Regions from separate parts of the Homo sapiens genome. Here region 2 is linked to region 1. The links are contacts of gene promoters, found by promoter capture Hi-C in blood cells and fetal thymus (Javierre and others, 2016). All regions are on one chromosome and are shown on one strand. Each heading gives the region's core, a stretch centred on a gene start or on the middle of the fragment in contact. The rest is flanking DNA. Distances are from core to core; before and after follow the strand shown.

The links. The method cuts DNA at HindIII sites, captures the fragments that hold promoters and counts their contacts. A CHiCAGO score of 5 or more calls a contact.
Region 2: a fragment that was not itself captured here is called in contact with the fragment with the promoter of SH3BGRL2 in region 1 in 1 of 17 cell types (megakaryocytes); the score reaches 6.8 in megakaryocytes.

What each region holds. Positions count from the first base shown.
Region 1 is chr6:79,629,935-79,632,686 of GRCh38, forward strand. SH3BGRL2 (SH3 domain binding glutamate rich protein like 2) reads left to right here and starts at 1,395. Exons shown (of 4, transcript NM_031469.4): 1 at 1,395-1,572. The coding sequence starts at 1,528. The HindIII fragment of the contact is 2,885 bases long and covers 1,094-2,752 here.
Region 2 is chr6:79,665,114-79,667,865 of GRCh38, forward strand. The region is part of intron 1 of SH3BGRL2 (SH3 domain binding glutamate rich protein like 2); the gene reads left to right. Among named protein-coding and RNA genes, the nearest start is that of SH3BGRL2, 35 kb to the left of the region's middle. The HindIII fragment of the contact is 1,226 bases long and covers 735-1,960 here.

The sequences.
Region 1 (2,752 bases), core at 145-2,644:
ACTTTTATAAAGATTTGCATTTATATAGGAAATACGGTATCTACTTTTAAGAAAATTATTTTCTATTTTATAAACGTGCATTTCCACATTTATGGTAGCAAAATTAAAGTACATTTGCCGAGAGATACTAAAGACAGCAAAACTTCTATTTAAAATTTTAAACACGAAGAAGAAATAAAGTCCCATTAGGAGTGTCTCTTCTATTATTGAAGGAAATTTAAAAAGATTCCTACTACAGAAATGGCTTTAAGAAAAGCAATAGGAAAGGTTATAAATTTGAAATATTCATAACTGTTCTAAAAAATACTTCATAATGATTGCTCTTTGTGCAAGAAATGTATCAAAGAGCCAGAGACCTCATCATCTAATTTCTTACTTTTTCTTAATTAACATTGTTCCCAGACCTCTGCTAAACTCCCGTGTTGAAAGGAAAAAAGTAAATACAGTACAGCAGGGAAAACTGGTTCCTTTCGACAAAACTGAGAGAGAGGCTTGAGCTTTTGTCAAACAGAAAGCACTTGATAAAAAACTATTCCTAAACTATTAGCAACTATATAGAAGCTTTTTATTTAACAGCATCCTCCTGGGAAACTGCGCTGGAATGTGCAGCGGTTCTGAAAAAGGCACAGATTTGGCTGAACTGTAAATATTAGGTGCACAGAGGCGAAGCCATTGTGTAGGGAGGGGTGGGGCAGGTAGGGTCCTGATTTCCAATGTTGATAGAAGGATTCCAATTTCGTTTGGTATTTATTTTTTTCTACTACAATTACAGTTTTGCTGAGAAAAATAAAATATTGGTTGTGCTTCCATCTGGGTTTCTAATTTTCAGTGTGTACAGACAAGAGAAGACCTCTCATTTACCCAAAAGAATCACCTTTCTGCAATCTCCAGTGCTACTGGACAAACAAACGAGCCCAACCCCACCGCCCACACCTCCCAAGCACCCGGCTCGCCGATCCCGCCTGCTTCAGGTAGCTGGGGTTTGCCCGGTACGCCAGCGGCCCTGAGACGATGTGTGCCCGCAGCACGATCGTGTCTGTTGGCATTTCTGGGTGTGGATGCTCCAAACCAATAAACCACAATACAGAACCCAAGCTTGGACTTTGAACCGAGCCCTTTTGCCTAGTTTGCTTTTTCCTCATCAAGCCAGGATCCTTGCCAACCCACCTCACAGCTTCTGCCCGGGCTGTGGCTCCCCTCCAGCCACCTGCGCGTGTTCGGGATAGAAGCGCGGTCAGGAGGGGAGCTCAGTCCACCAGCCACTCCAGGGAGAGACGGAAACTACAAATCCCATCAAGCCCCGCAGCCGGCTCCCTCCTCCTCCCTCTCCTTCCCCTTCAGCCTGCGGCCGGGCGGCGCTGGGCTTTTATCTGCGGACCCGCCGGGAGGGAGCCAGATCCCAGCGATCTTCCCCGACGGCAGCGCTTTACCCAGAGGCTGCCGGCGGCTCGTAGCTGGGTTCAGCTCTGCGTCCACGCCAGCCCGGAGCCCGGGGGGCAAGGGGTCTGTCCCGGGCGCAGCGAGAGGATGGTCATCCGCGTGTTCATCGCCTCTTCCTCGGGCTTCGTGGCGGTGAGCGCGGTGGGGGCGGGCAGTAGGTTGGGGTCGCGGGGCGCGGGTCCTGCGGGAGGCGCGCGGCGCTCGTCACTGCGCGTCCTTGCGCTCAGCCGGTCCGCCCGCGGGAGCCCGCGCCCGGCAGGTGATCCATCACACTCCGACAACAATGAAGAGGGCGGGGAGGAAAGGTGGGTGGGGGACCCCGGCCTCACCCAAATGCCCACCCTGCGTGGCCTGAAAGGCAGACAACGCGGCCTGAAAATGGAGTCCGAGGGAAGCCCCCAGCTCCTGTTGTGTGGCATGGAAATTTGGGGAACGGGTTGTTCAAGAGCTTCGGGGATCCCCCTTCCCCTAGTTTAGTTCTTCCCGATTTGGGACCTTCAGACTGGTTATGTTTTGCACGGGAGCCTTTTCTGCTGCTTTGGTTTGTTACCCTAGCTCCTGAATGAAGCAAGTTTAAGTGGGAATTGCTCTCTGTCCTCCCTTCCCCGCCAGCAAGTGCATTTGTTTAGTTTTATACCTGCGCAAAGAGAATAGTAAAACTAGGTTTGTCCTGTTGTGGTAGGATTGTTTGCTTTCACTGTCATTTTTTTTCTTAGGGTGCCATAAATATTTTTACATCTTTATGTAAATGTGTGTGTATGCACGCATTTTCTTTCCACCTGTAATGCTGTGGAAATTTTATCCTGGGGATCTATGAATTGTGGTTTTCTATTTAATTATTTTTAGCTATTCTCTTTGGTGGATGTTCTTGAATTTTTTTAGAGAAAAAAAATTTTTTTAAAGAAAGGAAAGTTAAATAGCTAGAGATGTCAGAATTTAAGGAAAATTCAGTAGTTAGTATATTTGACAGCCCACTAAGGGACATAGCACATGTGTTTTACATGATTATTGAGACTTGGTTTCCTTAACCAAGAGTTCAGCTATAGATTTAAGAGCCTCCTTTGTGACATATATAATCAAGTAACATCAAAAAGTGCATTGTAGATTGCTTAAATTTGGTCTGGTCAATTGTCTGCCCAGTAGCTCAGTCAGATTGTTCCAAAATTTGTTTCTTAAGTGGGTGGAGTGGAGGATGGAATAAAATATTGTTTGAAAATCCTTGTACACCACTGAAGTTTTTTATTTAAAAAGAAACCAACACGATCATACAAAGCCCCTCCACCCCCATTTGCACTAGAAACAATAGATGGGA
Region 2 (2,752 bases), core at 98-2,597, 35 kb after region 1:
CGCTTGAACCCAGGAGGAGGAGTTTGCAGTGAGCTGAGATCGAGCCACTGCACTCCAGCCTGGGCAACAGAGCGAGACTCCGTCTCTAAATAAATAAAAAAATAAAAATTCAGCAAATTTGAAACACCATCTTTACAACACACCTAAATCTCCAATGTTAGAATAATGTTTAAATACATTAGCATAAGTACTCAATATAATTCATACATGCAATAAGATAGCTATGGAGATTTTAGAAACAAAAAATATTCGTAATACAACAGAAACATCCTTCCCCAAAACATTTGTTATTATGGCAACTATATAAAGTCTACTTCTAAATGTGGGCTCCCTGGAAGGTTCTATGAAAAATAAAAGCCTCAGCGTGATGAGATTATGGGTTTTTTAAAATTAAAAAATTTCAAATGGGAAAGATGATTTACCATATTATAAACATGTAAAAAAGAAACCAATGCAAATTGATCAAGAAAACAGGACCAAAAATATTGACTGGTTAAAAAGAAAACCAAAGTTAAAAGTATGAATTCAAGCTTAATAATATTTATTTGTTTAATACAAATATTTGCCCATGTAGTAAGTGCCAGGGACTGTGCTAGTGATACATAGATGGAAAACCACAGCATTTTCTATCATTAAAATTATATTGTTTCAATTTATAACATGTACTAACAGTTTTTCAAAAATTGACCTTTATTTTATAATCTGTCTTTCTGACAGGGATTCTGTAAAACTCAAGCTTCAGTCTTTTGTAAGTCAGCCTCTTTATCCTTGGCTTGGTAATCTGGTATTTGCTTTCTAGTAAGATAAACTGAAATAGAAACTGGAGACACTGTACTTTATGTATAATCTCTCATTTAGTTAAGCAGCATTAGAACATTGCCAGTTAGCAAATGGCTTCTTGGGGGTTACTCTACACCCCTGCCCTGCTCCCCAACAATGAGGCGTACTGCTGAGGGTTTCAGTTAGGAATGTGTTCATTTGCAAGTAACAGAGAACCTGTCTAACATGAGCTTAAACAGAGGTGTTTCAGTCTCTCCTGGTAAGTCTGGAGGCTGAACTTGTCGAGGGCCTGCCTTGCTGGGATTCTCTTGGCCTTTTCTGATGCCTGTCACCTCAACGTGGAAAGGCTGCCCCACACCACTAGCCCTCACATCTGGATGCCAAGCTGGAAGAATGAGGAAGGGCAGGGACAAGGGGCCTTAGCATTGTAATCTGTCGGCTTCAGCAGAAAAGCCAAGCTCTGTCCAGAAGCTCCACCTAGTACACTGAGCTTTAGTTTTTTAGACTTCACAGGGCAGATCATGAATGGCTTTGGTGTAACTAGGCTAATGTCTGCCACAGTACTTTCTGCCATTTGCATCCTCTTTTTTGACAGCATAATCCCTAATAAGGCCAAGGATGGTGTTTTATTTAAAGAATTTGCCATGAAATTAGGTATATTTGAGGTACCCTACTCAATCACTGGAAAGTTCCTGAGGTCTTTGACAAGGGAAAGAGCCTCAGCCCTTTCCTCCCTTGTTAGTTGAAAGGAAGAATCAACTTAGGGCCTTCTACCTTCCTTAATCCAGTCCAGGCCCTCCTTTGTAAGTTTCGTCAAGCTGTTTTAAAAAAAACTTTTCCCTTCTATTTTCTCTCACTGTCTGACTTTTTTCTATTTGAGATACATAAGAGGTCCTAATCAGCCTTACATCTACCCCAAGTCAGAATAAAGAAAGCTGTGTGTTTGAAGTGTGAAAGCAGGTGAAATAAAGAACTGTTGTGTTGAATATCTAAAGCCTTTGAAAGCACTCAGAAGTTACTATATTTTTGACAGAGGCCACATCTAGGGCAAAGATAGAAAAGCTAGTATGTTTGAGTGAATGAAACAATTGAGCAGGTGCCCATTACTGCTTAGGCCTTTTCTTGTTTAATTTTCCAGTGAACCTATGGAAAAAAGATAATTGGGTTCTATTAAAAGAAAAGCTTTATGCAGATTATATTTAACAGAGTTTTACTGAACCAAGAATATTTTGTGAATTGGGCAGCCCCCTGAACCAGCATAGGTTCAGAAGGACTCTGACACTGCTTCATAGTCACAAAGAATTTATGTACAGAAAAAGGAAGTTAGGTACAAAAACGGGAATAATCTAATGGAAGTTAGATTGGTTACAGCTTGGCGCTTGCCTTGTTTGGACACAGTTCGAATAGTTGGCTGCCTTAATTGGCTGAAATGCTGTGATTGGTCCAAGAGTAGGTTACAATCTGTTTACGTATCTAGTTAGGTTACAGTTCACTATGGATGGAGCAACCTTTAGGCTGAACTCAAAATATGTAAGGAGGTAGCTTTAGGCTAAGTTTTTTTTTTTTTAATTGAGACAGAGTCTCACTCTGTCGCCCAGGCTGGAGTGCAGTGGTGTGATCTCAGCTCACTGCAACCTCTGACTCCTGGGTTCAAGGGATTCTCCCACCTCAGCCTCCTGAGTAGCTGGGATTACAGGTACATGCCATGACAGCCAGCTAATTTTTGTATTTTTAGTAGAGATGAGGTTTCACTATGTTGGCCAGGCTGGTCTCGAACTCCTGACCTCAGGTGATCTGTCCACCTCAGCCTCCCAAAGTGCTGGGATTACAGGCGTGAGCCACCGCTCCTGGCCTTAGGCTAAACTTAATTTAGCAGTTTATTTCACAGGTTTGGAAATGGAAGCTAAGAGAGATGCCAAGTAATATCTCCAAGGCTACCCATCTGTCAGGGTCAAAATTAAAACCAGGACAA